Regions from separate parts of the Homo sapiens genome. Here regions 2, 3, 4, 5, 6 and 7 are each linked to region 1. Evidence: promoter capture Hi-C in 16 types of primary human blood cells and fetal thymus (Javierre and others, 2016). All regions are on one chromosome and are shown on one strand. The core of a region is centred on a gene start or on the middle of the fragment in contact, and the rest is flanking DNA. Distances in the headings are between cores, read along the strand shown. Region 1 holds the start of MPP4 (MAGUK p55 scaffold protein 4). Region 2 overlaps KIAA2012. Region 3 has its middle 5.2 kb from the start of CASP8. Region 4 overlaps CASP8 (caspase 8). Region 5 overlaps FLACC1 (flagellum associated containing coiled-coil domains 1). Region 6 overlaps TRAK2 (trafficking kinesin protein 2). Region 7 overlaps TRAK2 (trafficking kinesin protein 2).

Region 1 (3,468 bases), core at 609-3,108:
AAAGGAAACCCAGACTTAGTATTTCTTTAGCCCACATTGTAATCCATGCCTCTAAGTATTGGCCTCAAAAGTCCCTCTGGGGTTTTAGAAATCTCTGTCTTTAAAATAAACGTAAACCAATAGTTATAGCACCCTTTCTAGCAAAGAGCAAATTAACTTTCTGACCCCAATAACCCAAGGACACGGGTCTCCAAAGAAATCTATTATTTCTTTGAATAAAAAGCATATTTTGATAGTTACTCGTTATTTTTTTTCCTCCTAAACAGATCGAGGGAAGGGAAGGTGAGGCTTTAAAATTCTGCTTAGAAACGTTAGATATTAATTATCTCCCAGTTGTAATGTTTTCTCAAGAGGCCTTTCCATCTTGTTGCTGCCTCTACCAGAATGTGCCTGTCCTCTGTTGGAAGGGGACCAACCCTTAAAAATCCGTTTATGTTAAATACTTTGCATTTACATTGGAGATTGTTTTGAGTTTCTGAACAAACACATAAATAACCACATTTGCCTGGTAAAGCCAAATTTACAGAATTTCTGACTCTGGGCGGGGGTGGATAATATGTGGAAATGGACAAACAAAAACTTTGAGACAAATTGACCCATTGAGAAGATTTCCAATGATGATAGGCTGTCTCTGTTCTAAGAAAAGCCATGTTACAATTCGTCCTTTTACTGGAGTCTTGAATGAAACTGTTCAGTTACTTTGGATTCTTCCTACTATATGCTTTTCAGATAGCATATTAAAGTTATAAATTTTGAAGTGTATTGGAAGAAAAACCCTAAATCTCCAGGCCAATGTTTGTAAATAGAAGTCCTTGGCACTCCTGCAGCAGTTTACAATGGTCATTCACATGCGTAATGAATGCTTACAGCAGCCCAAGGATGCAGGTGTTATCCCCATTTCCCCCCATTTTTCAGACAAGCAGTGACCAAGATTTGCTCACTGCCAGAGCTGGGACTCCAGCCTAGAACTTCCCTACTCCCTACTTCCCTAGAAGTCCAGTGCTTTTTGCTACTACAGCTGCCAGAGATGTCATTTCATAGCTGGTTATGTATTGAAAGTTCTTAAAAGTGAGTTAAAAATGAAAATCTTATTGAAATCAAGTGCTTTTCACAAAATATGCTGTACTCAAAACACAAATGTATCACATTCCCAACTTGTGTTTTCATCTATGATGGAGAGATAAGGAAAGCCATGTGATTAATATGGGTAGAAGGGCTGAGGACCCTCTGATAATTGCCATTTGGTCTCTACCTTTTGCCTTGCTGTCAGCAATACCTTCCTCTCCTTTCTGCAATATCCCCTTCCAAATGCTCTCCCCACTGAGCACTCCCTGCAGTATTAAGTTTTCAGATAAAGAAGTAGCTCCTATCTGAGACAGAAAGCACTATTTGTTAGGTTCAGAACAGTGGCTTGGGAGGGGATTGACCAGAAGGTACTGTTTTTGATGGGTTTCTATTATTAGCTGAACAGTCTTCAGTTGTTTTCTCACCATAACATGAGAGATTTAATAAGGTTAGTAGGTTATTGGCTTATTTCCGGTCCTGCCACATTTTTTTCTTTCATTAAAAATGCTATCTTCTGTTGTGGAATGTCTGTCATCTTGAACTAATCAACAAAAATACTATGTTTTTCTGCCGTTAACTATGTGTTGGCAATTTGAGAGAAAATACTAGAATGTAGGTTTGAAAATGATACAAATTAGACTTCAAGGAATACTTAAGAAGATTTGTGGCAGGAAAGGCTTGTGAGTAATTTAGTTGTTAGGCTGGGTTAGGCATCTGTGGATTACATCAAAGAGGATGTGCAGAGATTTTATCGGGAGCAGTGAGGTGACTTTGGCAGCTAACAGGCCACTAGTATCCTACTAAAGCTTTTGTCTGGATAGGAGCAACATGCATGTTTACAGTCTTGCAGGTAAGAGACCTTGGCAAATAATCCTCAGTTACCAGAAGATGTATCCATAACTGCCTAGCTTGCCTGTCAGTTTTTAATAGCTAAAGATATAAATCTGGGTAATCTAACTCAAATGGCTTAGTTTCATTTTAACTCAAATGATATGGGGAATTTTATGATCTTGAAAGAGCAGGTTTTGCTTCGAGAAGCCATTTCTTCAGTATGGAATAATGAGTTGTCAGGAAGATTGAGTACAATGGGCATTTGCCCTGGTCCTAATCAACAGCATTTGGACCCAGAGGAAGCCAGCTATTTTTGTAAGGGCCATTTCTCATCATTAAGTTTCCAAGTGCTTTTTTAGGGTTTGTCTAGTAAAAAGCACTATTTTGAAAAACAAGCATAGTAAGGGTAGGGGGTTGTGGCATTTAATAGTACGTTTTAAAAAGCTAATGGAAATACTTTTAAAACAAGATTTAGGACAAATTCCTTAGGCATCAGTCACACTAATGCATCTTCTGAGTCAAGAACTGGCTATCCTTTCTGTGTACTCAGTCCGGAATTGCATGTGGTGGGTGCTTACTTATTTGCAGTCTCAATCAAGAATTCTCACTCTCAAGATAGCAGAAATAGATAAGCTTCAACTGACAAATTTGGTACAGAAGTCATGGAAAGGAAGGTAAGTCTTTTGCCAGGCATCATGCCAGGCATCAGCATCTTTCAGGACTAAGGAAACAAAAGAGGAAAACTCGATTTTACTACATGTTAACTCTACTGAATACCTCCTTGAATGTCAGATTCCTTATCTGTAAAACAAAGGTTTTGCATTTGATTATCTCTAAGATCCGCTTCTGCCCCCAGTTTTAAAGTTTGATAGGGAAAGAGGTTTAAGTCAGGATACCAGGCCAGGGAGGAAAGGAAGGGAGGGCACAGGCCTCTGGAGTTCAGCTGCCTCCCCCATTAGGATTGAAGTCCCAGCTGCTGGCTACTGCCTTGAGGGAGGTATCAGCCTTTTACTTCTGGATCTTGGCCTCTCCTTGTTCTACCCCTTCCCAACAACAACTGAACATACCAAGTGCTTGCTATGGCCCAAGCACTGTTGCAGGTGAAGCTGCAGCATGAACAAGATAAGCAACATCTCTGCTCCCCAGGCCCTCTGCAGACATGACACCTGCGGGAGACAGACACTGAGCAAGCCAGTGGATACAAGAACTGGGAAAATGAGAAGTGCTATGAGGGCAAGAAGTTGCAACTGTTTTCTTAGCTACCTGGAGGGAGGGAAAATCATTTTCTGGAAGTTTTTTTCTATGAGTTTTGTCTTAGCTTTGGCTGTCATAACAAAGTACCATAGACAGTGGCTTAAACAACAGAAATGTATTTTCTCATACAGTTCTGGAGGCTGGAAGTTGAAGATTGGGATGCCAGCATGGTTGGGTTCTTGCGAGGGTTCTCTTCCTGGCTTTCAGATGGCCGCGTTTTCACTGTGCCATCATCTGGCAGGGAGAGAGAGAACACATGAACTCTGATGGCTCTTACCCAGACGCTAATGACATCTTGAGGCCTCTACCTCATGACCT
Region 2 (3,468 bases), core at 563-3,062, 470 kb before region 1:
GTCCTGGATCTACAGCCTACCACTGTGCAAGCCTGAGCGACTCATAGACGGCCAGAGCATGAGAATGGGATGGGGCCCTAGAGATGATCCATCCCGACCTCCTTGGTTTATGGGAAAGGAGACCAAGGCCCAGAGAAGCAATCCGCCCTTCCCTAAACTACAGACTTAATCAAAGGCACAGCTGGTAAAGGAATCCATGTCTTTTGAATCTGAAACCCAGTTTCCTCGATGAATAGATTTCAGTGTTTCCCAGACATCAGTGGGCATACGAATCACTTGAGGACCTTGTTAACAGGCAGGTCTGGGGTGAGACCCCAGATTCTCTTTTCTAATAAGCTCCCAGGTGCTAGCTAGAATGGGTCTAGATAGGTGGTTCTTACAAAAATCTCTGGTCTAGACTGCACTATGATGAAACGACTTGGTACACTAGCCACGAATTAGACCAGCCTTATCAGGTTAATGAGGGCATTGGCTGCTGGGACACTCACTGAGAAGCTGACAGAGCCAGTGTCCTCCTTCCCCATCAGCATTAGTTACCTGTTGCCTGTTGGCTGCTTCTGGGTCTATGGTGAAGGTGCAGGTTCTGGCTGGTGGCTGTAGGTTCCTTGACTGCACCCTAGTTAGAGGGCTGTGACCTTAGTAACCCTGGGAGGCACTGTTTCCTCACAGTGAACATCATGCCTGCAGTTGAAGTCTTCACTGTGAGGCCTTGAGGGTAGGAAACTTGGTTTTGTCATCTTTGAATCCTTTGAATACTTAGCATATTCATTCATTCATACATTTGACTCATTCATTCATTTAGGAAACATTTACCAGGCCTGAATAAGGCATGATCCTTGCCTTCAAGCAGCTCACATAACACATGGGGCTATAGGTGGTACTTAGTAGCCACCCAATTAAGCATTTGTGCAATTGAATTAGACTTCATGGATCCCAGGGACCCCCTGCCTGCCAGCTCAGACTTTTCCATCAGAGAGGAATAACCCTTCCATCTCGTTTGAAGTCACTTTACTTTGGCCTTTGTTAGAACAGTTGTACCAACATCCTATCTACTACACATCTGTCTCTTGAATAAGGCAATAGGGCTCTGGGCCTCCTTTTTTTGACAGAACAGAAATGATGGAAATGGCTTATTTGTTTCTGAGAATTTCCACAATACCTGCCTTTCGTCCCCACCCCCACATTGTTCCAGGCTGCTCCTTAAGGACCCCCTGCACCTCATGCAGGGTTCCCCAAATCTCTCACTCCTCCTAAGACTCTTAAAGCAGTTCTGTCATGTCCCAAGGAGTTATGTCACAGTAACTTCACTGAATGCAGAGGCTGGAAGGCTGCTTCATTCATTTTGGGTCTGCTGCCCATACCTGGACTTAAGCAGAGGACTACATGCATCCCCCAAAAGCACCCCCAATACCCCTTATGCCACCCAGACTGGGAAAGTAAAGAAATCATTATGTTATTACCTTAGAATAAGGCTCTCCTGACAAGGAGCAAATTGTGGCTCCTATTAAAGATTTTTAAAGAGTAGATGAATATCCCTTTTTGAGCACTTTGTGATGGGTACTTTTCTTTTTTTTTCTTTCTTTTTTTTTTTTTTTTTGAGACAGAGTCTTGCTCTGTCGTCAGGCTGGAATGCAGTGGCACAATCTCGGCTCACTGCAACCTCCGCCTCCCGGGTTCAAGTGATTCTCCTGCCTCAGCCTCCCGAGTAGCTGGGACTACAGGCACGTGCCACCACACCTGGCTAATTTTTGTATTTTTAGTAGAGATGGGGTTTCACCATGATGGCCAGGACGGTCTCGATCTCTTGACCTTGTGATCCACCCGCCTCAGCCTCCCAAAGTGCTGGGATTACAGGTGTAAGCCACCATGCCTGGCCCTATGACGGGTACTTTTCTAAGCACATTACATAGTTAACTCTTCTTTGTCACAACCACCCCATGAGATAAGTACTGTTAGTATCCCCATTTTACAGAGGAAGAAAAAAGATGCCCAGAGAAGTTTAGTAACTTACTCAAGGTCACACAGCTAGTAAGTGGTGGTGCTAGAACTTGAACCCTGGGAATCAGACTACATAATCAGTACTCTTGATCACAATGATGCTGCCTAAACAGTGCCTGCCAACCAATTCCTTCCCCACTACCTATTATTATTATTATTATTTTATTTTCTTAGAGACAGGGTCTTGCTCTGTCATCCAGGCTGGAGTGCAGTGGTGCAGTCTCAACTCACTGCAGCCTTGAACTCCTGGGCTCTAGGGATCCTCCTGCCTCAGCCTCCTGAGTAGCTAGGGCTGCAGGTCCTCACTACCATGCCTGGCTAATTAAAAAAAAATTTTTAGAGGCCGAGATGCAGGGCATGGGGAGGGGTCTTGCTATATTGCCCAGGTTGGTCTCCAACAACTTCTGGTCTGAAGTGATCCTCCTGCCTCCCAAAGTGCTGGGGTTGGAACCATGAGTGACTGTGTCCAGTATTCCTTCCTACTGTTTTTAAAAGAACAGGTTAAATTGAGTTGCTGCCAAATTCAGGGAAATACATACTGGAAACAAGGCCCAGGGCAGCGATTCAAAACTGTGGTTGCTGGTCCACCAGCATCAGAATCACCTGAGAACTTACTAAAAATGCAAATCGTCAGGCCTCAGCCCAGATCTAATGAATCAGAAACTCTGAGGGCGGGGCCTAGAAATCTTTAGTTTAATAAGCCTTACAGGTGATTCTGATGCACATTGAAGTTTGAGAACCATTGGCCTAGGAAATAAACAAGAATTGAAATAAGAATTGAAATTTTATTCTTTCCCTGGACTTTGGACAGGGGTAGAGGAGTGGAAAGTTTTTTTTTTTTTTGAGACGGAGTCTCACTCTGTTGCCCAGGCTAGAGTGCAGTGGTGCGATCTTGGCTCACTGCAAGCTCCGCCTGCTGGGTTCATGCCATTCTCCTGCCTCAGCCTCCTGAGTAGCTGGGACTAACAGGCACCCGCCACCGCACCTGGCTAATTTTTTGTATTTTTTAGTAGAGACAGGGTTTCACCGTGTTAGCCAGGATGGTCTCGATCTCCTGACCTTGTGATCTGCCCGCCTCAGCCTCTGAAAGTGGAAAGTTTTGTATTTAAAGCCAGAGCAATTTTTCAAAGCCACTTTGATTTGGAGGTTGCTGATTTGACCTGTCTTGTGGAAACTTGAAGTGTTCTCACCAAGTCTAAGACTCATGATATTCTCACTGCAGGTGGCAACTGGTTCACTGCTTATAATTAACCATGAAGATCACAACTTAATTTAGAGTAGGAAAAAAATCCTGGTAATTAGCCTTAAGACCTATGGGGAGAAAATTGATCCTTTTTTTTTTTGTTTTTGTTTTTTTTTGGAGACAGGGTCTGGTTCTGTTGCCCAGGCTGGAGTGCAGTGGCATGATCATAGCACAGCTCACAGCAGCCTCAAACTCCTGGGCTCCAATGATCCTCCTGCCTCAGCCTC
Region 3 (3,468 bases), core at 517-3,016, 440 kb after region 1:
GGTAGCTGGGATTACAGGCATGCGCCACCATGCCCGGCTAATTTTGTATTTTTAGTAGAGACAGGGTTTCTCCATGTTGGTCAGGCTGGTCTCAAACTCACGACCTCAGGTGATCCACCCGCCTCGGCCTGGCAGAGTGCTGGGATTACAGGCATGAGGCAGCGCGCCCAGCCATGAATTTTTAAAAAGGGTTTTCTGCCCTTTTGCTTTCACATCTTGTACATTTTATAACCAGAACACCAGCAATAACACATTACCTATATGTTGCACCTTGACATGAACTATCTCTAATTCTGGCAGCAGAATTCTCTAATTCAGGGTATTGTTCTCCCATGTTATGGATGAGGAAACTAAGACTCAGACAGTTACATGGAGTCAAACTCAGTCCTGCTGAGCCAAAAACAGAGATTTTTCTATGACATACTAACTCCCTTTCTCCAACACTTCAAATTTGGAATGAATCATGTGGATGGAAGAGCAACAAATTTAAACTAATAGTGACTGGTGCATAAAGGGCAGAAGGTCCTTGGTTTCTCAGTCACCTAACAAAAAGGAGTTGGCCTAATAAAGGCACAAGCTAATACTTATCAAACCATTGGCGTATGCCAGACACAGCCACCTAAACTAGCTCATTTCCACTTCTGAACAGTTCTCAGAAGTGGATGCTACGATTGGTCCCATTTTATGGATGAGGACACTGAGGCTTAGAGAGGCTGAAAGACTTGGCCACGCTCAGTCAGTGAGTGACAGAATAAGGTCTGTTTGTCTCTAAAACCCTGAGTGGTTAGTCACCACCTAAACATTAATGCATAGCCATGAATCTCAATCTGACCCACCTCAGAATTAACTGTAACATTTCTAAAAATATGAGTCTTCCAGCTCCAGCTTTGGAACTCCTATCTGAGCAAAACTGTGGGAGATAAAACAGCTGGAGCACTTAGAATAGTGCCTGGGCCTTCCACATTTCTCAATAAATAGGCTGTGGGTGCAGTGGCTCACACCAGTAATCCCAGCACTTTGGAAGACCAAGGCAGGATGATCGCTTGAGCCCAAGAGATCGAGGCCAGCCTGGGCAACATAGGGAGACACTGTCTCTGCAGAAAATTTTAAAAAATTAGTCAGTTATGGTGGCATGCATCTGTTGTCTCAAGCTACTCAGGAGGCTGAGGTGAGAGGATAACTGGAGTGTGGGAGGTCAAGGCTGCAGTGAGCTATGATCACACCACTGCACTCCAGCCTAGGTGACAGAGCGAGGCCCTGTCTAAATAAATAAATAAACAAATAAATAAATATTCACTACTATGTTATTTAAGCTCACAACATCTCTAAGATGGCTATAAATTATTAGGCTTACATACAGATGATGCAATTAAATGCAACATCAATTAGCTGACAAATGGCAGGGCCAGTGCATGAACTCAGGAGTGTCTCACTCAAAAGTTTCTGCTCTTAGCCCCTGTACACATCTCCCTGCATGTACCCAGGCCCAGCCTAGCAGAAATGGATGATCTGCTGGAGGCATCTGAGGAGCAGTACTGAGAATGGGGGGAGCAGGGTAGGAGTGGGAGTCTCAGGGCTTCAACTTGTGCCATTTGTAAGGCACTGACCCTAGATTCTCCCAGTGTGTGTGTATATATATATGACTGATAAATGAATTATGGCCAGGCACAGTGGCTTACCCCTGTAATCCCAGCGCTTGAAGAGATTGAGGTAGGCGGATCACTTGAAGCCAGGAGTTTGAGACCAGCCTAGCCAACATGGCAAAACCCCATCTCTACTAAAAATACAAAAAAATTAGTTGGGCATGGTGGCATGTGCCTGTAGTCTCAGCCACTCAAGGCACGAGACTCACTTGAGCCCAGGAGGCGGAGGTTGCAGTGAGCCGAGATGACACCATTGCACTCCAGCGTGAGTGACAGAGGGACACTCCGTCTCAACAAAAATAAAAAGTGTTAATAAGTGAATTATAAACCTCAGGTTGGTTGAATTCCTATTGTGAAGCACAAAGATCATTATTACTTCATTTGCTGTAACCAACTTCTCACCCTCATCTTGAGACATGTGCCTGTGTGACTGTTTATATCAGAATTAATAATGTGCATGGTCCTTAGTCCCAGGGAAGCTGAAAGATCCGGAGGTGTTGCTGGAGCTGCAGGGACATGGAGAGCTGGCTCCTGCCCAGCACAGAATGAGGACAGGTCTGCTTTGACTCAATCTCCAAGTGGTTTCCACCCTCTAGAATCTCAGCTCCCACCTGGAGGCCTGGTCCTGAGACTACTGTGTCTCCTACCATGTCCACCAGCCGGCTGAAAGCAGATTTGGACCTGTAAGTGTCCCTAAAAAAGCCAAGAAAGACCAAACCTCAGCTCAACTGCAACACACCCTTCCCATTCATCTTGATGTGACACCCTTCAAAGATAAACACTCACAGTGAAAGCAAAATCCCCTGAATGTGCATGCCCTTTGTTTGTTGCCAATGTGGGAGTTTGTATATAACCCATGGGCCAGGATGGTGTGGTTTGTGGATTCAACGGGGCCGCTCCCCTTTCCTTGACTGGCAGCTGGCCTTGGCTACTGCCCTAGACTCCTCCTCCAGAGCGTGGCAAGGGAAGGGAAAACAGATTCCATTCACATCTATCTCATTCCTTTCTGGGCCTTGTAGGGAGAGGCTCAAAGAGTTGTCTAAGACAAAGATTTTAGCAACTGGGATTTTAAGTTTTTCTTTTGGTATTAAAATGATCAGACAGTCATGGGGCATTTACAGTTACTGACCTCAATCTGCATACTCTGCAGCTTGTTGATTGCCAATACCTACCCCTTCTGCTTTCTCAGAAAAACTACTGCAGACATGAATCCGTACCACGGATTTAGAAAGGAAGAAATTGAGTTTGTTAGACTCTGATTCCAATATTCATGTCACTGACCTAGCTTTTCCAGAATTTTTTTTTTTTTTTTGAGATGGAGTTTTGCTCTTGTTGCCCAGGCTGGAGTGCAATGGTGCAATCTCGGCTCACCGCAACCTCCGCCTCCTGGGTTCAAGCGATTCTCCTGCCTCAGCCTCCCGAGTAGCTGGGATTACAGGTGTGTGCCACCACACCCAGCTAATTTTGTATTTTTAGTAGAGACGGGTTTTCTCCATGTTGGTCAGGCTGGTCTCGAACTCCCGACCTTAGGTGATCGACCCACCTCGGCTTCCCAAAGTGGTGGATTACAGCTGTGAGCCGCTGCGCCTGGCCCAGAATTTTCTTAAAGGTTTGGGCATAGAAGAGGTGAGGATCCCCAATATTCTTGAGGCACTATATGCCCATACCCAAGAAATGGGGCACCTCAGACGCTAAGAATAATTGTCAAGAACCATCTTTTAAAATGTATTAATTGTGGTAAAATATATATACCATAAAATTTACCATTGTAACCAGTTTTAAGTGACATCAAGTACATTCACGTCGTTATGCAACCATTCCCACC
Region 4 (3,468 bases), core at 708-3,207, 430 kb after region 1:
TCAGATATTCAGGATTTCCTCTTCTTCCTACCATGAGGAGGAGCAGATCGTCTAATAAGTCAGGATGTATTTGGTGGATTGTTGATTACATAAAGAGAAGTTATTATGCCTAAAAATTACATGTTTCTGCTGGTTCACTGAGACAAAAACACAGAGATGGCTAGATTGTGAGAGTTTGCTGCTTACACCTCATCACCAAGGAGAAGCATTTTTGAAACATTAAGCTAAAGGAAAAGGCTTGGCTTTTTCCATTCCTGCTAGACTCTTTCTCCAAACCACTCCCCCATCCAGGCTGGCACGGCTGCTAGAAGATTTGGTAGGAGGCTTATTACCCCCTCCACCCTCCAACTATTCCAGTATCTTCATCTCGGGTCTTAAAATAAAATTCAAATGTATAGAAAACTGAAGGAGTCACATTTTAAAAATTAAGTCACATTTTTAACTTTTTTTGTGTGAATTTTTTCTACAGTTCTCAAAATTTTCAGTAAGTTTCTGCCCCTTGTCAGTTTATCTGGCAGCAAAAAAAAAAAAAAGCTAACAAATTAAATAACTAGAATCTGTAATGTAAAAAAAAGGATTTGGAGGTTTCCGTCTACCTGTGATTCACTATCCTGTTCTCTTGGAGAGTCCGAGATTGTCATTACCCCACACAACTCCTCCCCTGCAAACAACGAAGAGACACATCTAGAATGAGACATGGCAGGAAAGGTACACTGGTAATGAAATATGTAGCACATAGGACAACATAAGGTCTTTTTTAAGATGAAAATTCAAGCTGGGAACAGGGGCTCACGCCGGTAATCCCAGCACTTTGGGAGGCCAAGATGGGCAGATCACTTGAGGTCAGGAGTTCAAGACCAGCCTGGCCAACATGGTGAAACCCTGTCTCTACTAAAAGTACAAAAAAATTAGCCGGGCGTGGTGGTAGCCACCTGTAGTCCCAGCTACTCAGGAGGCTGAGGCAGGAGAATCACTTGAACTTGGGAGGTAGTGGTTGCAGTGAGCTGAGATCGCACTACTGCACTCCAGCCTGGGCAACAGAGTGAGACTCTGTCTCAAATAAATAAATGAAATAAAATGAAAATTCACAGACTGCCATGAATATAATCTCCTTTCAAGCCAGAGAGATTCTGCAAGCAGGGCAATTAACATGCTTCTGGAAACACAAGATCAAGTTGTCTCCTCGCCAAAGAGAAAAACATACCAAGAAATGCCATAATTTTATATTGCTCCACATGGCCAGGTTGAATTTTTGTGGTATTTGTGAGATACTCATTAATAAAGCCACTAGCTCAGGATGAATTAATGATTTAGTACTTTACTCCTTAAAGTATTCTTAAGGCCTTAGGCTCAGCAGGCAGAGGGGAAAGGGAAGGACAGCCTGCATAGACATTAATCTTTAAAATACATTTGAGTGATCCAAAATGTATTTTACACACACACACCACAAAGAGCCAACGTAAAAATACAATAAAAATATTCATAATATGAATGGAGTGATGGTGTTCTTGGACTTGTAAAAATTTCTCTGAATTTAAAATAATCTTCAATTAGTGTATATAATTTTTCTAATCAGAAAGAATACTTTATTAATTGCCTATAGTCCCAGCACTTTGGGAGGCCCAGGTAGGTGGATGGCTTGAGCTCAGGAGTTCAAGATCAGCCTGGGCAACATAGCGAAACCCCATCTCTACAAGACATACAAAAATTAGCCGGGCATGGTGGCTTGTGCCTGTGGTCCCAGCTACTCAGGGGGTTGAGGCAAGAGGATCATCTGAGTCCAGGAGGTCGAGGCTGTTGTGAGCCAAGATTGCATCACTGCATTCTAGCCTGGGGGACAAAGTGAGACACTGTCTCAAAAAAAAAAAAAGACTATTTGATTAATCAAAATTTTGAAGGAGATCGTTGAGAGCTCTCTCTCTTGGTTCAGCCTCGCTTATCAGGTAGAAAAAGTGAAAGGAAGTTGAAAGGAGTGACTTAGTGTAGAAGGTGTTGAAAGAGAAAGTGACTTAACCAAGAAAATTATGAAACATAATTTAAATCCAGCTACTCAGTGCATAACATGAGCAGCACGTCAAGGAGAAAAAAAAAGCCACATAGAAAAAATGATGTTAAATTACTTACTACTGACTAACTCTGCACCTATTTCAAACTTGCCAGCTTGGGCTACAGGTCTTAGGAGAGCAGGTGCGGCCGGGCGCAGTGGCTCATGCCTGTAATCCCAGCACTTTGGGAGGCCAAGGCAGGCAGACCACCTGAGGTCAGGAGTTTGAGACTAGCCAGGCCAATATAGTAAAACCCCATCTCTAATAAAAATACAAAATTAGCTAGGCGTGGTGGTGCACGCACCTGTAATCCCAGCTTCTCAGGAGGCTGAGGCAGGAGAATTGCTTGAACCTGGGAGGCGGAGATTGCAGTGAGCCGAGATGGTGCCACTGCTCTCCAGCCTGGGAAACAAAGTAAAACTGTCTCACAAAAAAAAAAAAAAAAAGAAAAAGTAGAGCAGGCACGTTAAGATGTGCATGTGGTAGAAGGCTGTGGGGAGGACACATGCAGGTACCAGATAGTAAATTAACTAAATCTTGAAAATGTATCTCCAAGCATTACCATTTGAAAATTCATCAGGACTTCCTTCAAGGCTGCTGCTTCTCTCTGAATTAAAAGGGGAAACCCCAAACAATATTTGATTAGAAACAACTGTGATATGGAGCGATTTGTCAGTTTCAATTTTAGAGTAGGTTTTGCCGATTCCCGGCTGTCAGGTTGTTTCTACCTTTGCTGAATTCTTCATAGTCGTTGATTATCTTCAGCAGGCTCTTGTTGATTTGGGCACAGACTCTTTTCAGGATGTCCAACTTTCCTTCTCCCAGGATGACCCTCTTCTCCATCTCTATGAAAATATCCAGCAGGTTCTAAGAGGAGGAGAAATAAAGTTGGGAATCTGGATTGAGCCCTACTGGTTTTTAGATTAGATTTTTTTTTTTAATTTCCAATTTCTCCAACCAAGGACCTGCCCTTGCTTCCCAAGTTTCTGACAGTTTCTGCTGGTCTCTCACAGCCAGCAGGCTACTAGGGAAGCGATTCCATGTTTTCTGGCCCAGAAAGACAGAAGTGAGAGGATAAAGGAGAAGCCATGTCAGATGTCACCCAGTCCCCAGGCCCTGTGCTCAAATCTCCTGCGAATGCATTACTTGGGGACTGTGAAACAACCTGAGACAGCAGCCCGGTCATCATGGTGACACCCTGGGGAACAGCCTCACCCCCAGCATTGCCTCTCCAGACCTGAGTACATACAGACACACAGACACACACACACAGACACCACATGCACATACACACACAGATACAACACACACAGAGTATACTCAGTGATACACACACAGGGGCATAAATACAATACACACTACACAACACACAGACACACATACCACACAGAGAACACACACACAGAGATACACAGACACACAC
Region 5 (3,468 bases), core at 458-2,957, 400 kb after region 1:
GAGAAGAGTCGCTCTGATTTTTAAAATTTTCAGCTATTCTGCTCTGGTTTCCCCCCATCTTTGTGGTTTTATCTACCTTTGGTGTTTGATGATGGTGATGTACAGATGAGGTTTTGGTGTGGATGTCCTTTCTGTTTGTTAGTTTTCCTTCTAACAGTCAGGACCCTCAGCTGCAGGTCTGTTGGAGTTTGCTGGAGGTCCACTCCAGACCCTGTTTGCCTGGGTATCACCAGGAGAGGCTGTAGAACTGCAGATACTGCAGAACAGCAAATGTTGCTGCCTGATCGTTTCTCTGAAAGCTTCATCTCAGAGGGGCACCCAGCTGTATGAGTTGTCAGTTGGCCCCTACTGGGCGGTGCCTCCCAGTTAGGCTTCTCGGGGGTCAGGGACCCACTTGAGGAGGCAGTCTGTCCATTCTCAGATCTCAGACTCCATGCTGGCAGAACCACTACTCTCTTCAAAGCTGTCAGACAGGGATGTTTAAGTCTGCAGAAGTTTCTGCTGCCTTTTGTTGAGCTATGCCCTGCCCCCAGAAGTGGAATCTACAGAGGCAGGCAGGCCTCCTTGAGCTGTGGTGGGCTCCACCCAATTCGAGCTTTCCAGCCGCTTTGTTTACCTACTCAAGCTTCAGCAATAGCAGGCGCCCATCCCCCAGCCTCACTGCTGCCTTGCCATTCAATCTCAGACTGCTGTGCTAGCAGTGAGCAAAGCTCCGTGGGCGTGGGACCCTCCCAGCCATGCATGGGATATAATCTCCTGGTGTGCCATTTGCTAAGACTGTTGGAAAAGCACAGTATTAGGGTGGGAGTGACCCGATTTTCCAGGTGCCGTCTGTCACGGCTTCCCTTGGCTAGGAAAGGGAATTATCTGACCCCTCGCGCTTCCCAGGTGAGGCGGTGCCCCACCCTGTTTCGGCTCCCGGTCCGTGGCCTGCACCCACTGTCCTGCACCCACTGTCTGACAAGCCCCAGTGAGATGAACCTGGTACCTCAGTTGGAAATGCAGAAATCACCTGTCTTCTGCATCACTCATGCTGGGAGCTATAGACTGGAGGTGTTCCTATTTGGCCATCTTGGAAACTCCCCCTAAACCTCTTTTCTTTATAAATTACCCAGTCTCTCAGGTAGTTCTTCATAGAAATGTGAGATCAGACTAATATAGTGTCTTTGCTGTATTTGGGGTGTTAGGACTCTCCGTTCTGTTTGACTATTTTTCCATACTTAGGTCAACAACACATTGTCTTGACTACTGAAGTTTGAAATCGGGTAGCAAAGGTTATCTAGCTTTGCTATTGTTTTTCAAGATTATTTTGCCTTTCCACATGCTTTGTATTTTTACATAAATGTTAGAACTAGCTTGTCAATTTAGAATTAGCTTATCAAGGAAGTTTGCTGATATTTTGACTGGGATTTCATTGAATATAAAGATCAATCTGTGGCGAGATTAATTCTTAAGAGTATTGAATCTATCCACTGACTTAAGAAAAGCTTTTGATGAAAATATAATTTCTTTTAATATTTGTCAGTGAGATAAGGTTGAACATAATTAAGATTTTCATTAACTTCAACAAGTCATGTCACTAGTTTATAATGTGTGCTTCATTATAGCAGTGTCTAAGCTTTGGTGAATATTATATTCCTGAATCCTAGTCTGGCTTTCTTAACTCCCTAGAAGATGTGCCAGAACCACAGTGCTAACCTTTTCCCAATAAAATTGTTTTTAGGAGCTCTTGAAACAACATCAAAGTGACACCTTGCAATTAGAAGAGCTGAGAAAAACCAAAGAGGTAAGCTTTTTCATCCTTTCCTGTGGACTTGGTATATTACAAATACACCAATAAAATAACAAGCTGTCAGTATAATGGAATCAATGATAATTTCCCCAAAGCCAATAAGAAATGGAAGACCTAAAGCTGAGTTTACTGGATTCAATAAGTTAAAAAGAATTTTTGAAATTATCTGTAAAATAAAGCCAGTGGGTCTTTTTAAAGTCTGATTTGAACAAATAGATCAGCAATATACTATGTGATCTTCAATGTTGAATGACTTTCATTTCTAGCAAGGTTCAAACCACAAATGATCTTTCAGTTATAAAACACCAAGTTCTTCCCTTTGAGCTCTGAAAAGTATAAAACTGTCTCCTTTGAAACTCTGTCACCAAGCCCCTCCTTAAGCTCTGAATGTACCTCACACATGATAACTTCCTCAGGGACTCTATTCTGGGGCAAATTATGGCAGTCTGTGGGAGACAACTGAAGAGGAGCCGTTCAAATCCACAAGGTGATGTGTGATTCTTCCATCACTGAAAATTTGACTTGGATCCAGAATGGACACGTTTGAGAAAACATTAGTCATTATAAAGGCATTGTAAATGAATTCTATCTTAGAGCCCAGGCAGGGCTTCAGCATTATGGAAAGGCAAACAGACTGTGGTGTCCTACAAGTTCAAGAAATGGGCTTTGGAGGAAGATATACCCAGTGTATTATAATAACTATTTTCATGAGCTTGTCTACGAATTCTGTCATTTGTGTCATGTCTGGGCCTGTTTCTCTTCATTGATTTTTCTCCTCATTTATGGTCATATTTCCTTGTTTGCATGCCTGGTAAGTTTGGCTTGGATGTCAGTCATTTTGGTGTTTACCTTGTTGGGTGCTGAATATTTTTATATTCCTTTAGATATTCTTAAGCTTTGCCCTGGGATGCAGTTAAGTTGCCTGGAAACAGTTTGATCCTTTCAAGCCTTGCTTTTTAAGCTTCGTTGGGCAGAACTAAAGCAGTCTTTAGTGTGGAACTAATTTTCCCCACTATTGAGGTAATACCCTCTGAGTACTTGACACCACACCCTCTGTATGAGAAGGATTTTCTACTCTGCCTGGTGGGACCATGAACTATTCCCAGCCTTGTGTTGGCCCTGGGGATTGTTCCACCTGCTCCTTGCTGATGTTTCCTTCCTCTAACCTTGTCTCTTTCTATTTCTTCCCTACATCACTCCACCCCAGAGGCACTTGCCTCCTTGCTGTTCCCTTAACAGGCCAGGATGTTCCTACCTGGGGGTCTTTGATGTTCTCTCTTCCTGAAAAGCTCTTTCCCGGATATCCACATGACTAACTTCCTTTCCTCCTCCTGTTCTTTATTCAAATGCCACCTTCTCAGAAGGTGCCCGATTTAAGGGCTCCGCTCCCTGCCCAACACTTGCTTTTCTCCAAATGGGATGCCACTGGAGGTTTTTGAGGAGAGAGTATCATTTGGGAAAATAACTGTGGCAGCAATGTGAAGGAGAATCTGAAGAGGCAAAATGATGGGAGGCAGAACCTATTAGAAGGGTCACCTCCCCTTTACACCTCAACCTGACTTCTGCTCCAATCCCAGCCATGGAAACTGTTCTTGTTAAAATCACAAGTAAATTCCGAGTTGCCAAATCCAAGGAATGCTTCACCTCACTGGACATGAGCAGTATCAGGTGCGATT
Region 6 (3,468 bases), core at 248-2,747, 320 kb after region 1:
ATTTTTGATATCTTGATATTTAATATATTGAGTATTTTATGTTGAAGTGAAAGTTGATCTATTAAATACTGGTAACATTTGTTTTGCAGGGAAATTGGCTAAAGAAGTACCATCTCTATTTCATCACTGTTTCCTCAAGTACATGATTCGTTAGTTTTTCTTTTCGACTAAGCATAGAATAAGAATTTTCTCATTTGATTATTATAAAAGTAGGCAAGGCAAGTATGTATTGTGTAAAGTAAACCGAGGCATGGAAGGTTGAGGTGACTGGTCCTAGGGCAGACAACTAATAACCCAGCTGGGGCTATATACCCGGAGTTAGCCAAACTGCAAGATTTACAGGGCCAGTCCTCTGCACAAGCTCACCTTCACTTCTGTATATTCAGTAGTATTACTGAATACTGAAGTAATACTGAAGAAGTATTACTGAATAGTTGTCGAAGCTATTAGTTATTTTTAATTTCCTAAAAACACATGTTTCAGGTCAAGGTTGAGAAAAAATTCATCCTATGGATATTTTTATACCATTATTGTTTGAAATTAACATTTCTTGAGAAAATGAAATTTAACAATTAGAAGTTTTTATTTCTCAATGAAATAAAATTAAAAGATTAAAAAGAAAGAAACTTCTCCCAGAAGAGTTTTCATGTTTAATTGTGAAAGATTGTATTTTTTTAAAAGTTGGTAAACTGTTTACCCATGGATTATTGTCTCAATGTATCTCACTTTATGGAATGGATATATGAATAAACATTCTAAATTACTTTCCTTAATCTTCAAATTTCTTTGCCTTCTATCATAAAATTTAACTGTATTTCTACAGATGTACATTTTAGAGTTAAAATTTAAGAGTAAAGTTATCTAAGAGTACAGCAATACCTTTCATATCCCACTGAAAAGAAATATCTTTTAATAAGTTAATTACTAAGTTATGAATTACAAATAATTAATCATTGAAGTATCATGTCAAAATTTTCATTCCCCAGATCTGTTCCACAGCATACAGTTACGGATGTGTTTGTTGCCTGTTACTTTATATTTACCAAGGATAACTACTATAATTTCTTTAAATGCCAGCTTGGAGCTTGCTTTTTATTCTTAAACACTGTCTCCCACTTTTTTTTTTTTTTTTTAAGCTCTGGGTTCCCTTCATTATCCTGTGGAAGTAGCGGTAGCAGTTCATCCAACACGGCTGTGAATTCTCCTGCCTTGTCCTATAGACTCAGCATTGGTGAGTCCATCACCAACCGACGAGATTCCACTACAACCTTCAGTAGCACCATGAGCTTGGCCAAACTTCTACAAGAGCGAGGCATCTCTGCCAAAGTGTACCACAGCCCAATTTCAGAGAACCCCCTCCAGCCTCTCCCTAAATCCCTGGCTATCCCTTCCACACCACCAAATTCACCATCTCACTCACCTTGCCCTTCTCCTTTACCCTTTGAGCCTCGAGTGCATCTCTCTGAAAATTTTTTGGCCTCTCGACCAGCTGAGACATTCCTCCAGGAGATGTATGGCTTGAGACCCTCCCGGAACCCTCCTGATGTTGGCCAGTTGAAGATGAACTTAGTGGACAGGCTGAAGAGACTGGGGATAGCCAGAGTGGTCAAGAACCCTGGTGCCCAAGAGAATGGAAGATGCCAGGAGGCAGAAATTGGTCCTCAAAAACCAGATTCTGCTGTTTATTTAAATTCAGGTAGCAGTTTATTAGGTGGACTAAGGAGGAATCAGAGTCTTCCAGTCATAATGGGTAGCTTTGCTGCCCCAGTTTGCACATCCTCACCCAAAATGGGTGTCCTGAAGGAGGACTGAGGTTCAGCAGTTAACTGACCTTTTATACAAGTTAGCACATGAAGGATAGATATGCACTGAAACATGTGGTCTGGTCTGACTTGAGAGAAAAGGAATGTTGCACAAGGGTTGTGAATGTGAAAGGGGGAATGGAGGAATGGAAATAAAATTGGGATGAGCCCTAATGGAGGAAGTCGGGCAAATTGAAAGTATAAATGAATGGGCCATGAGTGTTCAGAGGGAGAAAAGAAAGGTTTAATATACTCCTTCAGTTGAGTTTTCTTGTCTTGAACATAAAAAGTGAATACAAATAAATTCAGTAATACTAAAACATACAGAGATACTGAACTTGCTGGCACATTTACTTCTGGTAAGCATAAAGCAGAGAGAACCCAGGTTAGAAGGATGGGAAGAGAAAAGGAGCAGTTTTATTGCTTATAGAAAGCCGTTCTGAGGGGTTGGTGGGGTAAGCTCAGTCTATTACTGAGACAATAGTGAGATGGCTTATATGTTTCCCCTGTTAATATCTGGTTAAATTATGTATCCATCAAATGGTATGCTCGCAGCATTAGCAAAATTAGGAGTTTCATCTTTTTCATTGAATCACAGGTGGAGACTCCTATTTTCCTTTCTGTTTTCAGGCCTTTGAGCCCCTGGGAGCCCAAATACCACTCAATTATTTTGTATTTATGATTAATAAAAGTTCATTTTTTAAATTTGTATTTTTATACAACCTCCAAAAAAAAAAACAACTGGGTAGAGGGTGGGAGGGATTTACTTTTAAGAGGCAAAATGTGAGTAAATTGAAACCAAGAAAACTTGTTTTTAGAATATTTCGTCTGAATAAGTACAGTAGCCAAGGAATACAAACATAATTGCATGTTTTTAAAAATTCCTTGGAGGCTGGAAGGGGTTAAGCCAGAAGTGCAATCAATAGGAATTAGGGAATGTTGTATATTTATATATGTAAACTTTTTTTGTAAGAAAAGTTGGTGACAACTAAACCAACTTTTTCCAAAGTGCGCTATGCATATTTTTAATGAAAGATGACATGTATTTGCACAAAAATTCTCAGGCACATTAAATTATTGTAAACTGAAGTAAAACCCGGGTGCTTGCTTTGAGATTGTGGTTTTTTCTTCCTAATGTAAAATAAAATAAAACACATCTGCCTTCTTGATATTTATAGAATTAGAGAATAAACTTTTTAATGGGGGAGTCAAAGCTTTTTCTTTTTCTCTAAGGTTCTTTTTTTTTATTCAAACTGTATGAAATGGCAAAGTGAGGCTCTGGGGTTAGATTTCAGCATTCAGCAGTTGACACAGGCTAAGAAATGGAAAGAAGTAGATCTGTTTTTTCTCAATGTTGCTGAGCAAAGTCTGCTTCTCATCAGATGACGTGGCTTTGTCTAGACAGCACGCAGTTCAGAAAGAAATGTCTTTATACAAAAGACATGATAGAGAAAAGATGAGAGAGGGGACTAATTATTTTGTTTATGAAAATGGCAAGTAAATTACTTGATCTTTTTGGTGCTTAATTTGCAAATGTTTTGTTCCTTTGTCCTGACTTAAAGGCAGTTTTCTGAAGAACTCTTGACTCTTGCTCCTATGGTTCCCATAGGCACACCTATTCCCAGGCCAAGGAGAGTCCTTCCTCTCCCCTTTTGAGGCATCCCCG
Region 7 (3,468 bases), core at 703-3,202, 260 kb after region 1:
GGGCCGTAGCAATAGGCTTGAAAAATAAATTGACAGAACTGGTGACTATATAGAAAGCAGGTATTTAGGAAAGGAAGGATGACTCTTAGATTTTTGGCTCTGCTGATCAGGTGAATTGGTGATATCAACTAGTTAGTGAAGCAGAAAAAGAAAAATATTTAATGGGAGAAGGAAAAATGAGTTCAGTTTAGAATGTGGTGGATTTATGGTAATGATTATAAATTGATACTGAGATTTCCAGTATAAAATCACAAAATGCCAATTTGGGTTGAAGATAGAGACTTGGAGAGTAACTATAGTGTAGTTGGAAATTGAGGCCTTTGAAGTAGATGAGATTCCAGAGGAGAGAAGGAGAGAGAGAGGGCCCATGAGAGAATCCTGAAGAACTGGGGAGAATAGCCATTAAACGCAGGTAGAGGAAGAGAGTTCTCAAATTTCCACAGCCTCCTATTTATTATAGCCTTCAAGCTCTGAATCTAATAACCTCCTGGATTGCAGATAGCCAGTAGCCATATCTCAAAAAATTTACCTGTTCTTATTTGCCCTGAAGTTCATGGGCAAACCAAAGGCGTCTATTGCATGTTAATTCTCCCTCAAAAAGTAACCTTATCTTCAAAGCCCTTGAGTTGTCTGTGACAACTGGTTTTGAAAAACAATGAGTCTTATGTCTAAACATACTGTAATTAGAAAGTCTCTCGCCTAGTAGAATTACATTACTAAAATAGGTATGTCTTTAATATGCAGATAATTCTAGAATAAATCTAGAATTATATGTGTTTATAATACTCCATCCTGACCATCACTCACCGCCATTTTAAGTTACCCTCTGTTCTGGTCATATAAGATTGCACGTCCTGGTGCCACTGATTACTTCGTTGACTTGAAGAGCTATATTGCCTATAGTTTTTCTTTTGACACTGATCATATGGGGACTTCTGCTTCTGAAGGCCTTAAGGACTATAATTTTTAAATAACTGAAGGATTTAGAGTCATCTTAAGCCACCAAAAGCAAATTTGTGTTTTATTGTTAGAGAGGACAAAGAGAAATGAGGACATAGATTTTCTACCTCTTCTTGACTTGTTGCTGTTTTTAAAATTTGTATTTTCCTTACTGCTATGTGAAAGTGCCATTTCAAGGGGTCTTCCTAGCTATTTGATTTGAGGATAAATTCTGAAGAGCAGATTATACAGAAATATTCTTAAATCTGTTAGCACAATTGTCATCTATTCAGTCTGTTTCTAATCTTCTGTGAAGTATTTCCAGGTTTTCGGCCAATGGTGTCTTTTTATTGAAACTAGCGCCTAAATTTTGCCAGTCATCATTGAAAGAAAATTCTTTCTGACTTGTTCAGGAAGGATTTATTTGTTTCTAGAAGTACAGTACATATTTTAGTACCCACAGATTCTATTGTATAAAATGCCTCTGCTTGAGATGTATTCCCCCATTTTTGGTTAAGAGAACAGGAAATCCATGAATTCTATGATGCCATTTACTCTGCATTCCTCATTTTTGAAGACCTATACTTGTTTTTTTTCCTTTTTTAATCGTTACTTTAGTCAAAAGGACATAATTTTCTGTTGAAAAATAAAAAATATGGTAACTATATTTTATTAATATCCTGGAATATAAATTATTGACAGCAACTGCCCTTGTGAAGTAATATTTTAATATGTCTAACCCAAGTGTCAGCTGAGTGTCCAGACCCTTCAAGAGTGAAATAGTTGCTGTAAACCTTCAGTTGCATGTGAAGGTTTCATATGGGGAAGCCAAAACCCTCCTTATGATTTTTGCAGATTTCTGGTGTTCTCTCTGAGCTCCTGCCATCACCATGAGACCTCTCTCTCTTCCCTCTCCCTTTTAGGAGAAAGAAAAAACAGTTATTTCCCTGTCTCTTGCAGAGCAGTTTAGCCTTCTTTTTGATGCTATGAGGCCTTACCTTCTACCTTAAGAGACTTTTCCAAGTCTTTTCCCAAACAAAAAGTATTTCTTTCCTAAAAGAAGCACTGTTGTCAGCTGTTAAGATAATAAAATGTGTACTTTGTTAGGTATGATTTGGTAATAATAACCCTTTTATTAACACTTAATTTCTCCATTAATCTAACTTTCAAATATTTAAATAATGCATACTAAACTCAGTCTCCATTCTTGAAAAGTTATAAGAAAGCCTATCTTGAAAAGGCTTTTGCAGTGTTAGATGTGAATATTATTATATAGCCTTGGGTAGCTTTTATGCCAAATGGCAGAGAGAAGATATTGCTCACTTAAGAGACTACAGAATTTCAGGTAGAGTTTATGTCAAGTTGCTCTTTCTTTTAAAGAAATAAATCAAGGCCAGGCATGGTAGCTCTTGCCTGTAAACCCAGCACTTTGGGAGGCCAAGGCAGGCAGATCACTTGAGTTCAGGAGTTCAAGATCAGCCTGGACAACATGGTATAACCCCATCTCTACAAAGACATACAAAAATTAGCTGGGCATGGTGGCAGGTGCCTGTAGTCCAGGCTACTTGGGAGGCTGAGGTGGGAGGATCGCTTGAGCCCAGGAGGCGAAGGTTGCAGTGAGTGGAGATCATGCCACTGCACTCCAACCTGGGCAACAGAGTAAGACCCTGTCTCAAATTAAAAAAAAGAAAGAAATCAAGAATGCCTTATGAATGTGAGACTGAAGTCTACCTGTTTGAGTTTTACTTTTAGTATTTTTGAGCTATCTTATTTCCTTTGACTAAACTACATATGACCGTCACTAAATTATTTTTGACTGGCAAATAATAATTTGCTTTGTTATTCAGATTTCTAAGCCAATCATGACCTTTTATAGAAACAGTGAATTTGAAAACAAATGGATGATGGGACAAAGCATAAAACTAGGGATGTATAAATATTAGCTAATGCTGTATTAAGCATTTTTATGTATCTCCTTTGATACTGTCACTCTGGGACATCAAGCAAAAGATAGAAATCCTGTCCAGAAGTATAGTTTGAAAACATGTTGATATTGCTTATTCAGTTGCTTATGCAATTTCTTTAAGAGTTTGGTGTTCTTTTATTCTATAATCCAAAAATATCATGATTTTAGGGTATAAATCTATAGGACAGAAAGTCTTTATATGGTCTTATAAATCCTTTGAAACTCTTCTGCTTGAAACTTGAAACTTATGAACTTTATGGATAGGGACAAAGTATACTCCAGAGCAAGGGATTTAGCTGTGCTGATCATCAACAGATGAATATTTTAACTCGGCCATTATTATTATTTATAGCATGTTTGTTTTATATGTGCATAGTTTTGAGGTATTCTGTATTACAAATCCCATTTTTGTCCCTGAAAGCAGTGCTAATGATAGATTACTGGGCACAAAAGTAGAAATTGTGTAAAAATTTGATAGTGAGAAACACCGATTTAGATATATCATTGGACGATAAGAATGATTATGGGCCGGGCGCAGTGGCTCACGCCTGTAATCCCAGCAC

The links. The method cuts DNA at HindIII sites, captures the fragments that hold promoters and counts their contacts. A CHiCAGO score of 5 or more calls a contact.
Region 2: a fragment that was not itself captured here is called in contact with the fragment with the promoter of MPP4 in region 1 in 1 of 17 cell types (fetal thymus); the score reaches 5.2 in fetal thymus.
Region 3: a fragment that was not itself captured here is called in contact with the fragment with the promoter of MPP4 in region 1 in 1 of 17 cell types (endothelial precursors); the score reaches 5.8 in endothelial precursors.
Region 4: a fragment that was not itself captured here is called in contact with the fragment with the promoter of MPP4 in region 1 in 2 of 17 cell types (erythroblasts and megakaryocytes); the score reaches 7.4 in erythroblasts.
Region 5: a fragment that was not itself captured here is called in contact with the fragment with the promoter of MPP4 in region 1 in 1 of 17 cell types (erythroblasts); the score reaches 5.3 in erythroblasts.
Region 6: a contact is called between a fragment that was not itself captured here and the fragment with the promoter of MPP4 in region 1, in 1 of 17 cell types (erythroblasts). The highest score is 6.4, in erythroblasts.
Region 7: a fragment that was not itself captured here is called in contact with the fragment with the promoter of MPP4 in region 1 in 1 of 17 cell types (endothelial precursors); the score reaches 5.7 in endothelial precursors.

What each region holds. Positions count from the first base shown.
Region 1 is chr2:201,697,034-201,700,501 of GRCh38, reverse strand. MPP4 (MAGUK p55 scaffold protein 4) reads left to right here and starts at 1,858. Exons shown (of 22, transcript NM_033066.3): 1 at 1,858-1,915. ALS2 (alsin Rho guanine nucleotide exchange factor ALS2) reads left to right here. Exons shown (of 34, transcript NM_020919.4): 34 at 1-235. RefSeq lists enhancers at 227-726, 727-1,228. The HindIII fragment of the contact is 2,266 bases long and covers 1-1,873 here.
Region 2 is chr2:202,166,547-202,170,014 of GRCh38, reverse strand. The region is part of intron 15 of KIAA2012; the gene reads right to left. Among named protein-coding and RNA genes, the nearest start is that of KIAA2012-AS1, 51 kb to the right of the region's middle. The HindIII fragment of the contact is 4,560 bases long and covers 1-3,468 here.
Region 3 is chr2:201,253,569-201,257,036 of GRCh38, reverse strand. It overlaps a transcript of CASP8 not described here. Among named protein-coding and RNA genes, the nearest start is that of CASP8, 5.2 kb to the left of the region's middle. The HindIII fragment of the contact is 6,710 bases long and covers 1-3,468 here.
Region 4 is chr2:201,272,082-201,275,549 of GRCh38, reverse strand. It overlaps CASP8 (caspase 8), which reads right to left. Exons shown (of 9, transcript NM_001372051.1): 4 at 2,774-2,912; 5 at 2,608-2,652; 6 at 597-661. Among named protein-coding and RNA genes, the nearest start is that of CASP8, 13 kb to the right of the region's middle. The HindIII fragment of the contact is 7,281 bases long and covers 1-3,468 here.
Region 5 is chr2:201,297,556-201,301,023 of GRCh38, reverse strand. FLACC1 (flagellum associated containing coiled-coil domains 1) reads left to right here. Exons shown (of 15, transcript NM_001127391.3): 12 at 1,724-1,786. Among named protein-coding and RNA genes, the nearest start is that of CASP8, 39 kb to the right of the region's middle. The HindIII fragment of the contact is 173 bases long and covers 1,621-1,793 here.
Region 6 is chr2:201,378,887-201,382,354 of GRCh38, reverse strand. It overlaps TRAK2 (trafficking kinesin protein 2), which reads left to right. Exons shown (of 16, transcript NM_015049.3): 16 at 1,137-3,468. The coding sequence ends at 1,812. Among named protein-coding and RNA genes, the nearest start is that of FLACC1, 23 kb to the right of the region's middle. The HindIII fragment of the contact is 3,042 bases long and covers 1-3,018 here.
Region 7 is chr2:201,434,220-201,437,687 of GRCh38, reverse strand. The region is part of intron 1 of TRAK2 (trafficking kinesin protein 2); the gene reads left to right. Among named protein-coding and RNA genes, the nearest start is that of TRAK2, 16 kb to the left of the region's middle. The HindIII fragment of the contact is 6,958 bases long and covers 1-3,468 here.